Linked DNA regions of Homo sapiens: regions 1 and 3 are each linked to region 2. Evidence: promoter capture Hi-C in 16 types of primary human blood cells and fetal thymus (Javierre and others, 2016). All regions are on one chromosome and are shown on one strand. Each heading gives the region's core, a stretch centred on a gene start or on the middle of the fragment in contact. The rest is flanking DNA. Distances are from core to core; before and after follow the strand shown. Region 1 holds the start of SESN1 (sestrin 1). Region 2 holds the start of GTF3C6 (general transcription factor IIIC subunit 6). Region 3 holds the start of AK9 (adenylate kinase 9).

Region 1 (3,782 bases), core at 466-2,965, 1.9 Mb before region 2:
TTTTAACCTGCTGCACTCGTATCTTAAATAGCTACACATGTGAAAAAGAAACAATTCAGGCAAACACAGAGAAAGCTAGTTGAGCAATTTGCCATAAAAGTGTTTCTATCAAATACCCCACCTGGGTCCACCTTTTCAACATGAAGATATTAGCTTCTTTTAAGATAGGTTTTTATTATTTTATATAATTCTCTTCTTGAAAAAAGAGAGGTTGCATTTAGAGAACACATCCTGGTTTGTTTTGTTTTTAAAAATAAGAGAAAATTGTTCCACCAATTATCTTGAACAGGCTGACTAGGAAACATTTAATATCCTTTATCATTTTAGAGGCTTTTAAATGTGAGCCTTTACACTCAGAACACTGTGACAATGTGAAAAAAAAACACTGGCTACATTTTCCAACAACATGTAAAAAGAAATATAAGGAAAAACAAGTATTTACTTGGAATTAACTGTAGTTTTCATATATTCTTCCAGGAGCAAAGCAGTTTCTGCCTAAAACTCTAGAAAAACACTACTTGTTTACTTACAGAACACTCTAAAGATGTAAACTCATAATAAAAGTTTACATAACAACCTAATAGAAACAAACACAACGTGAATAACGGCAAGTAAAATTTAACTGTAGTAGAGACATAGTTGTATTTAAAATGCTCTTCCTTACCTGGATGCTCTTCAGAATAAACTCACTTTTCTCTCTCACATCTTTGAAGGGACACCTCTTAGAAAGCATAAGCAGATGAGCAAGTAGCTTATTCAACCCATCCGAAGACTCGGTATTTGAAAGCCCGTCTGATGGACGATGAGGTGTTTCTTTCACCGAACGAAGATACTCGGTTTTCCTCAAAATGGTTTGCCTAATGTTTTCCAATGCTGTCTCCCTAGTAGTTGAATCTCTGCTGCAGAGTCCATCCCATCTCACTTCATTCTCTCCTTCAGCCATGACAATAGTTTTTCCTTTGCGGTCTTCAGTTACCTTTCAGCATGCCCCAAAAAAATTGCTTTGTATTTTTAAAATGAAAAATGTAAAAATAAAATCAGAGAAATCAAATCGTCATGAAAACACACATCTGGGTGACATTTGGAACCACTGGTGCCTTCAGCCGATCTACAAGCTAGGTCACCCTCTCACCCTCTCCTTGTACACGAAAGGGCAGTCTTCTTTCTGGAAAAACAAAGTTTGAAAGTTGCAACCTTGCAGCGCTGGCTTTGGTGGGCAGAGAATTTCGGGGAAGCGTTCTCCTCCGTCTCGCGGGGTCAGTGGATATCCTCACGTTGTGGAGCTGTCAAATCCGTGCTCTGCCCCAAAAGGCTGTTAACAGCTGAACGCCCTCCAGCCATTCGGGGCTTTTTTGTCTGTGCAGCCACCGGGTTCTCTCCGGCGTTCCCACCCCGCCCCTTCTCCGACACCAGTCCCCGCCCTCCGCAGCTCCTCCCAGCGCCTCAGCAGCCGGCCGGCGCCGGCAGGGAAGGCTCGCCGAACCCTGGCCCACTGGCCGCAGCGGCCGGAGGCTTGGGCGCTGTCGGAGGGCGGCAGTCTCGGGCAGCCGTAGTCTCGGCGGGCGGCGGTGAAAAAAAGCGTCCCCCAGCCCCGCCAATTCGGCACCCCCGGGAAGACGCTACTTCTCCGATCCCTGAGCCCTCGCCCACCACCGCCGAGCCAGAGGGCACAGGGCGGCCCTGGCAATCCTCGAGCGCCAGGCTGGGCCGCGGAGCTGGCGGGGCGGCGGGGCCCGAGGCGCAAAGCCCGCCCTTCGCCCAGCCCCATCGGTGGGGATCAGCCCAGAGGGCGGGAGCAGGGAGTGGAGACGGGGTCCTCACCCCCAGCCCCTCCCCTTTCTCCGCCCGGCACAAACCGGGAGCCGCCCCGGCCCCAGCGCCTTCTTCCCCGCCCAGGCAGACGCGACCCGCCGAGGCAAAGCCTTAGGAAAAAGCCCCGCCCTCTGGCAGGCTACCCTCCGGACCCCAAGTGCGCCGCGCGCGGCTGCCAGCCACTGCCGGCTGCTACGCATGCGTGACTGCGAACTGGGCCAAGCGCCCCCGGAGGCGCTAAGCTTGCGCCCTGAGGCGGTTTCCGTTCCCGGACGTTTGGACTCTGTCCTGGAGAAGGGGAAGGAAAAAGTAAGACGTAGAAGTACACTGAGACTTCGTCACACATAAAACAAGCACGACAAAGAAAGAGGGCGCGAAGGGACTCCTGGAAGAAATTGAGTCTACATTTAAGATCACCCTAAAAGTAGTGACGGCCTCTTCATTACTCCAAACCCCAGATTTAAGTCGGTAGGACGTCTTCGCGTTGACTTGTGGGGAATGTAGTTTCGATGCTGCCGGCGCGTTTTGTTTGCGACAGAAACTACAACCCCCAGGGGCCACCGCGACGTTGCCTGTGGGTGCCCGCGAACCAACGGTTAGCGGTGGCAGGGGCTGACTGAGAGCGTCTGCTTGGTAAGCACTGTAAGCTGGGTTGTCACCTTTCCTTGACAGGGTTTTTCCTTCCTCCATTTCCTCTGGGATTTTGGAGACAAAGCCATCTAGGGTGGCCTCCCTTAGTCCAAGGACTTTTTCCAGTGACTTGCGTGGGAAGGACTAGTCCAGCTGCCCAAGCGCGGGGTGTGGTGGGTGAGGCAAGGATTTGGGATCCTGATCCCAAGGGTCGCAGGGAGCGGCCTAAGTAAGGCCAAGAAGGAAGGATGCTGTGGAAACTGGAGCTTCGCGCTGCTGCCTCTGATTCCGCCCTTTTTTGTGGACACACGCGGGGTGGATTTGGGATCTCCGCGCATTTGCACCTTTGTTTGCCTTTGCTTAGGGATGTTCTGGGCTTTATTTGCTCAGTCAAATGAAATCCTAGGCAGGGCTTTGAAAGCAAGTTGTCAAATCCATCTCGTAAAAGAATCCCCAGTATTCCTAGATAGGAATTCTTGCAGGCTTTAAGGATACAGCAGGAAAAAGAAAGCAAAACCGTAAAAGTCTCCAAAACTTAGTCGACTTTTTCAAAAGATTCAGTCATTTGCTTAAAATTAGTTTGCTTTTAAAAAGTTATTATTTGAGAAAAGTCGAGGTTTGAACGGCCATCAGTGGACTGATAATCGGTGTAGATTTTAATTCTTTACATTGCAGAATTGCATTGCACTAAATTCTAAAAATTTCGTCTTGCTAGGCACTGAGTATACAACAATGAAAAAGACAGTCTTACTAGTTAGAGGAACTAGTTGTTAGACATACGGTTACAATAATACATGATATCACTGGGATGTCTAGAAGGAGATGACTTAGCCCAATCTTGGAAAGTCAGGGAAATCTTCATCCCAGGGGAAATGAAGACCAAAAGAACAGCATATGCTAAGGCCCAGAGTGAGAGATAGGGTACTTTCAGGAAACGTCAGTAAGCCAAATCATGCATACTTGGCGGTGTGGGGTGGGACGGGAAGGGTGCTTTTTGTGTATTGATGCACTTAGAAGCTACAAAGAGACAGGTATTGTGAATTCTTTACATCGTTTCTGTAAGTGAGCTATTTTTGAATAGATGCATAGTTCTGATGAATTGGTCTAATTTCAAAAGCCTTGTTACATTCTGACACTTCTAGTTTGAATCTGAATTTTAAAAAGGGAATAACTTATGAGTGTGATTGAAAAAGCAAAACAAAAACCATTCCGTTTTCATCTCCTTTTTGGGATCTTCATTCTCTATCCAGCCCATAAAGGGTCGGGTAGTTTCTTAAGGCTGGGTGCCTTTTTATGCCGTAGTTAAATATGATCTCATGTATACCCATGGCTTCACCAAC
Region 2 (3,576 bases), core at 517-3,016:
AGTGCTGGGATTACAGGCTTGAGACACCGCACCCGGTGTTAAGTATAATTATTTTCATCCTCATATAATAAATAAGAAAACTGAGGTTGGAAAACTTCACAATTATTAAGCTTCAGAGCTAGAATTGAAATGTACTTCTAACAGGTCCAGTGTTCCTTCTACTTTTTTAAGCTATGAAATCCTATACATTTAATTAGGCAACTGGACAAAAATATACACAAAAGAGTGTTATTTACAATATCCACAAATTGTAAATAACCTATGTGTTAAAAAATAGAGGATCAAGTTATGGCACACTCATACAACCATTATGTAAAGACAGGCGCTGTGGCGTGCACCTGTAGTCCCAGTTACTCAGGAAGCAGAGGTAGGAGGCTCCCTTTGAGCCCAGGAGTTTGAGGGTACAGGGAGCTACGATGGCGCCACTGCACTCCAGGCTGGGCGACAGAGCCAGACCCTGTCACAAAAAAGAAAGGAAAGAAAGAGAGAAAGAAAGAAACAAACAATGAATAAAAGAAAGAGAGAAAGAGCATCATACTAAAAAATTTATATATTACTACTAATAATAGATTAAATGCACTTTAAATGCTTACTATGTGCTGAATACTGGGCTAAATTTATTTTATATGTATTGTCTCATTTAATCCTCACAACCACCAATCTGCCCAAAGCCTTGCTGTTAATAATGCAGCAGAACTTGACTGGTATTAAAATCCAAAGCTCAGGCTGGGGACGGTGGCTCACACCTGTAATCCCAGCATTTTGGGAGGCCCAGGCAGGGGGATCGCCTGAGGTCGGGAGTTCGAGACCAGCCTGACCAACATGGAGAAACCCCGTCTCTACTAAAAATAACAGAATTCGCCGGGCGTGGTGGCGCATGCCTATAATCCCAGCTACTCGGGAGGCTGAGGCAGGAGAATCGCTTGAACCCGGGAGGTGGAGGCTGCAGTGAGCCGAGATTGCACCATTGCACTCCAGCCTGGGTAACAAGAGCAAAACTCCATCTCCAAATAAATAAATAAATAAAAATCCAAAACTCACGATCTTAACCACTAGATCACGCTATCGCAAGTACGAAGACCGTTTCTTTCACAATCACAAACATCTATGGGATACTTCTGAAAATTCTGTTCAAACTTCTCTTGCCCAGGTCTCTGTGTTCCTATAACAATGTGTATCTCTTACAGCACTTGCTTGGATCCATTTATGTACCTCTCACAGATCTTATGCTCCTGCAGGCCTGAAACTTAAGCCCACTTTCTATTTTTCATAGCTCCTGGTGCAGTGCTTTTTACTGTGTAGGCGCTCATTAGTATTAAACTGAATGTGCCTTTAACTTGGCTTGGGGTACGTTGAATTGAGGATGAGCGCTCACACAATATTAAGAATTTCTTTCCAAGAAATGTGCTCGGGTCAAACACAAGGCCTTTCTGTCCATGATCCGCCTGAAACCATGGTTTCCTTGTTTTCGCCTTTATCCCTTCTGCCTTGCCAGTCCTCCCCGCCAGCGGGGCCGAGAGCCCGGCGACTCTTGCGTGACCGAGCGGGCTCCGCTGCCTACGGCAGCCCACCCCCAGCCCCTGCTCTGAGGCACCGAGAAACGAGGAGGCCCGTGGCGAGTCTCCACGTGGGTACCGGCGCTCTCGGCGCCCGTAGCCACCCGCCCGCCGGAAGCCGACATCTCGAGTTCTGGCAGAAGCAATTTGCGCGGCGAGGAGCGGAGCGGCAGGAACCCAATAAGCTGCTTCGCCTCGGAGCTGAAGCCCGTACTCAAGATGGCGGCTCCGGGCGGGCGTGGCCAGTGACTAGAAGGCGAGGCGCCGCGGGACCATGGCGGCGGCGGCGGACGAGCGGAGTCCAGAGGACGGAGAAGACGAGGAAGAGGAGGTAGTAAGCGCTACGCCAAAAGCCTGCACCGCAGTGGCGGTGATGCCTGTGCTGGCTGTGTGTGGGGAAGGGAGTTGGGGAGCTGCGGGCCGGAGGGAGGCCCCACTGCTCCTCACCGGCTTCTTGCTCCTGGGCGCGAGGAGCCGGGCAGCTTGGGACCTTAGCCCTAATCGTCACCCCGTACTTGGGATGGGAAGTACCGGGAAGTTACCTTAGGTAGCGTAGTTTCCTCTTGCTGAAAACAGGGTCCGGTTTTCACAAATGTGGGAAATTTGGCTTCTTTTGCTAATTGCTCCCTCTTGGCCGCTCGCGTGCTAGCATGTTAACCCCTCTTTCTTTCACCAGGAGCAGTTGGTTCTGGTGGAATTATCAGGAATTATTGATTCAGACTTCCTCTCAAAATGTGAAAATAAATGCAAGGTTTTGGTGAGTTTTCTAGACTTGGGGGGATTGTTCTAGAGTGTCTTAAATGTAAAACAAGAATCAATGGTGAAATACCTATCCGCAAGTATTGATATATTTATTTCACCTTACAAAGTAGTGAACTCTAAGGATAAGAAGTATACTAAGTATAATTAATTAATATGTAATTAAGTATAATGTAGAAGTACAGCGGGGACTATGGGAGCAGATAGGAGAAAATGGCTAACTTTGCTTGCCTGTTTGAATGTGTGGCTGAAGAGAAAGTTACAGATTTGGAGGAAGTAACATTGTGATATGGAACCGTACATATATTCCTGTATTCTCAGCACTTTGGGAGGCAGAGGTGGGAGGATCACTTGAGCCCAGGAATTGGAGACCATCCTAGGCAACATAACGAGACCCCTTCTCTAAAATAATAATAAAAAAAAATGGCCAGGCGCGGTGGCTCACGCCTGTAATCCCAATACTGGGAGGCCGAGGCGGGTAGATCACGAGCCCAGGAGTTCGAGACCAGCCTGGCCAACATGGTGTAACCCCGTCTCTACTGAAATACAAAAATTAGCCAGGCATGGTGGTGGGCGCCTGTAATCCCAGCTACTCGGGAGGCCGAGACAGGAGAATCGCGTGATCCCTGGAGGCAGAGGTTGCAGTGAGCCGAGATCGCGCCACTGTACTCCAGCCTGGGCAACAAAGGGCAAAACTCCATCTCAATAAAAAAAAAAAATAATAATAATAATAAATTAGCTGGGGATGGTGGCATGCGCCTGTGGTCCCTGCTGCTCAGGAGGCTGAGGTGGGAGGATTGCCTGAACATGATCATGCCACTGCATTCCAGCCTGGGTGACAGAGCTAGACACTGTCTCAAAAAATAAATAGATGACAGATAGACTCTTTGCACTACTGTTGACAAAACTTCCTCTGTTTTTAGCTTACTCTTGAACAGGATGTTGATTGAAATAAACCTTGTTACTTGAGTATGAATTAAGTAGTCTTCAGGTTGTAACTGCTGTGATCAGAGCAGTTGTAGTTTATCCTGTACTTGGTAGGACAAGATGCTCTAGAGGTTCCCCAGTTTTGGAGATTAGTTTCCTTGGTAGCAAGGTTACAATGTTGAAGCCTTTTTCTAATTATGTTTTTTTTTTATGATCCTTTATTCTGTTGTAGGGCATTGACACTGAGAGGCCCATTCTGCAAGTGGACAGCTGTGTCTTTGCTGGGGAGTATGAAGGTAGGAGGATGTCAGATAGATGGAACTCTTTCTGATAT
Region 3 (3,637 bases), core at 269-2,768, 1.3 Mb before region 2:
TACGTCTCATATAAACAACCTGCCTTCAAAGTTTTGTCTTAGGATCTGATTCCGGGTGAAATAAACTAAGATAAAGTTAAAATGGAAGTGCTAAACTATAATAATTGAAAACTAGAATCCTTCAGGTATTTTAAGAGTTGCTATCCTAGATAAAAACACTGTGCAAACATTTAACTAATATTCAGAAGAGTTGGTTTCATTATGAAACAGAACACAGCTAACTATTTTTCCCAGTTAAAAGATCCAAGTCCAAAATGCCAGAACGGACACGGCCATCCTTCTAGTTCTTAATAAAAGGAGTACCAAACTACAGGGGGAAAGAAGCGCAAAATAACATAGACTTAAGTATTTCTTTACAATTTTTGTAATTTCTCAAATTTTAATTTACAATATGATCTTTGGTATTACATGAATGTTATCTGGGTATGCTATAATTCTATAATTTTTTTTTAAAGTTTCCTTACACTTAGCAGTTGAGAAGCCCTCTAGCAGAGGTTTCTGAGGTTTAGAGGTTTCCTGGGAAACCTAGAATTGCCGCCTAAGATAGGATAGCTGCCTCTCCCCTACATCTTATACTCTTGCAGTAGGTGTTCAGTAAATATTTGTGGAATAAATACTTCAGTCGTTGAAAGGAGACGTGGTTTTAAAAAGTGGATTTACAAAGAGACCGTTTTGCAAGAAAAGAAGCTGGTCTGGGGGTCCCCGCAGGAGGCGGGGTTCCGTGCAACAGATACCAAGATGCCTCCAGGGCGGACCACGACCCAGCGGGCCGCCGGAAGGCTCCTTACCTGGCCGCAGCCGGACCCTCCTCAGGGAAGCAACTGCCTCCAGGGACTCCGCGGGGCTGTCGGGCGGTTGCCGGGGAGACCTCTGGCCGCCACGCACCTGCTGCTTGGTGGGGCGGGGCCTCGAGAGGCGGGGCTGTAGTTCTTTGTCATTTCTTTTCCAATTCGAAATAGTCACTTTTGTACCTAATTTGGCATTTATAATTATAATACACTCATTTTCACAACTATGGAAGAGAGGGTACGCGCATGCCCATTTATGTCGCACACATGAAATGAAGAAACCTCATTTCAAGCGCGGCTCCGCCACACTGCGCTAGTCTCTGTCGACAACTTCAAGTGGCTAGCCTCACGCACAAACGTGTGGCAAAGCCACACTTTCCAGCTTTAGGTGATTTTAAAACAATTTCTTGGGCCACACAGCGTAGGTACAACATGGATTAGAGGTGAGGGGAAAACTGACACTCAGTGAAGGACCGTCAGAGGGCCGGCTTCCAGGAAAATGGGCCGCAGCAGGCAGGGAAAACACAAGGATCTATCCTGCAACTCGGAGAACCCTTTTCAAAAGAAGCTACCCAATCCCAAACCTTCCGCTTTTTTCCAAAGAGAGGGAGGAGATAAATAGACTCAATTAATCCGTCGACTTTTTCTCCGCCCATGTTTTCCTCCAATCCTTACCAAAGATGGTGCCCTTCGCTTCCTCTCTCGGCAGCACGCAGGTCCCGGGAGCCTCTACCCGACCTCTCTATGATACGTCCTCCAGCCCCGCTCCCGACGTGAGGGGCGGGGCTTGCCTGGAGGCGGGGCGCAGGGATCCGGAAACACCTGATCATCTATAGGTTTAGTGCCTAATGGGTGTTGTTCCTGGCTGGACTTGATGTCCAGGGCCTGAGGGGTTTTCTCGCCGAGTCTCCTGGGGCGGTCCGGAGGCTCGTGCCCTGTTGTGGGGCCCCCATTTGCCGCCGCCATGCCCACGGCCGCCGCCCCCATCATCAGCTCGGTCCAGAAGCTGGTTCTGTATGAGACTAGAGCTGTGAGTACCCCCTCGCGGCGGGGCGCAGGCGGGAGGATGGATGTCTGCCGGTGGGTGTGGGGCCGTAGGACAGAGGCTGTACTCTGCCTCCTCCTCCTTCCTCTCCAGTTCCCAAATCCCTGTCAAACACAGCCTTGGGGTAAGCTAGCTCCCTTGAGCTGTGCCTGGGCGCCTTTCCCCTATTTTGGTACCCTGGACATTGCAGCATTTGCAGGTCCACTTACAAGCCATGGCTGGAACACGCTGGAAACAGGTGCTTGTGGTACCTCAGGAACTGTTCATGAGGTTCTCTGTACGAGTTACTGGATTCTTTTCAGCTTTCAGAAAGTCTGTTAAAGTTCTAGAGTTCACAAGTTACAGTACAGGCAGGGGTATGAAAAAAATTTGAACTATGACTTGTAACTTATTTTTTCCTATTCCATGGTATACCATCACTGCGATTCATGTGAATTACACTTCTATTGGTGAACTTTTTGGTTCTCTTTTTTTCTTATTTGAAAGGAAAGGAAAACTTACTTTGTTTAAAGACAGATAATTTGTTTGGATAACATCTTGCTTTTCACTTGACTTTTTTCAACATAACATTTACTTTTAAAATTTTATTACTTTGAATGGCCATGTAAATAGTGAATAAGCAGATCAGTTTGTATTTCGATTACCAGTTCCTCAATTAAGGGAGAATGGTGTTTATATAACTTCATACTTGGTCCTTTCTGTGGGTGGAAAGCAAAGTTGGTACAGTATAGCTCTTCTAAATTGGGGTGCCACAGTGATATTAGGGACTGTGTTTAATATTACCCATTTCATGCTAACAAGATTGCATATGCCAGATATTTTCATAATGCTCTTCACTATGTTATAGAGTGCTTTATAAACTGTTTCTCTGAAACTTGGGTTGTCTCCATTAGAGGAGTATGAGAAGGCATTTAACAGTTTCTCAGTTATAACGTAGTCCTAATAGCACAATAACCTCTCCCTCAGGTTAACATGAGTAGAGAATTGTGGACCTTAAATTAATTTTGCTGACAACTTTGATTAGATCTAGAGCAGAAAATGACATTATCAAATATACTGTATTTGCAAGTATTTTCAGTTCTCTAATGAGACCCATAAAGAAGTATCATTTGTCATTGAAATGAAACCTATTTTCTGTAAAATATGCTGCTAAATTTCCCTCATTAGAAACATAAATAACTTTTTTTTTTTTCCCTTTGAGACAGAGTCTTGCTCTGTCACCCAGGCCGGAGTGCAGTGGTGCTATCTCGGCTCACTCACTGCAACCTCTGCTTCCCAGGTTCAAGAAGTTCTCGCACCCCAGCCTCCCAAGTAGCTAGGATTACAGGAATGTGACACCATGACCGGCTAATTCTTGTGTTTTTAATAAAAGACAGGGATTCTCCATGTTGGCCAGGCTGGTCTAAAACTCCTGGCTTCAGCCTCCCAAAGTGTTGGGATTACAGGCATGAGCCACCGCATCTGGCCGTAAATAAAACACAAATTTCAGCCCATTAAAAAGCTGATCACTCATGAGGACTGCGTGAGATATTAGTGTTCAGAAAGCACAATTCATATTATAGGGCTCTTCTGCTCAGAAATCTTCAGTGGTCCCAATTCTGAAGCAAGTAAACTCTGAATCCCTTAGTTGGCATTCAAAGCCATGTATTATTTGTCCTCAACTTGTCTATCTAGTTTTACATCTAATTTAATATCAATTAATGAAACATTTATTGAGGATCAACCATGTGCCTTCATATGCCTTATTCTGCAGTAAAACTGTATTGCTTTCAGTTCCCTATATCTGCCCTGTGTTTTTCTGCTG

What was found. Contacts are between HindIII fragments. The CHiCAGO score rates a contact against its expected background, and 5 or more counts as called.
Region 1: a contact is called between the fragment with the promoter of SESN1 here and the fragment with the promoter of GTF3C6 in region 2, in 1 of 17 cell types (activated CD4 T cells). The highest score is 6.0, in activated CD4 T cells.
Region 3: the fragment with the promoter of AK9 here is called in contact with the fragment with the promoter of GTF3C6 in region 2 in 1 of 17 cell types (total CD4 T cells); the score reaches 5.9 in total CD4 T cells.

Annotation. Positions count from the first base shown.
Region 1 is chr6:109,093,131-109,096,912 of GRCh38, forward strand. SESN1 (sestrin 1) reads right to left here and starts at 1,716. Exons shown (of 10, transcript NM_014454.3): 1 at 665-1,716. The coding sequence starts at 943. It overlaps CEP57L1 (centrosomal protein 57 like 1), which reads left to right and starts at 2,377. Exons shown (of 11, transcript NM_001271852.3): 1 at 2,377-2,445. RefSeq lists enhancers at 1,084-1,233, 2,104-2,363 and a silencer at 1,344-2,043. The HindIII fragment of the contact is 3,523 bases long and covers 1-2,052 here.
Region 2 is chr6:110,956,940-110,960,515 of GRCh38, forward strand. GTF3C6 (general transcription factor IIIC subunit 6) reads left to right here and starts at 1,767. Exons shown (of 6, transcript NM_138408.4): 1 at 1,767-1,887; 2 at 2,233-2,313; 3 at 3,475-3,538. The coding sequence starts at 1,831. RefSeq lists an enhancer at 1,640-2,089. The HindIII fragment of the contact is 8,604 bases long and covers 109-3,576 here.
Region 3 is chr6:109,689,684-109,693,320 of GRCh38, forward strand. It overlaps AK9 (adenylate kinase 9), which reads right to left and starts at 1,519. Exons shown (of 41, transcript NM_001145128.3): 1 at 1,464-1,519. It overlaps FIG4 (FIG4 phosphoinositide 5-phosphatase), which reads left to right and starts at 1,613. Exons shown (of 23, transcript NM_014845.6): 1 at 1,613-1,818. The coding sequence starts at 1,753. RefSeq lists an enhancer at 1,097-1,566. The HindIII fragment of the contact is 5,228 bases long and covers 1-3,637 here.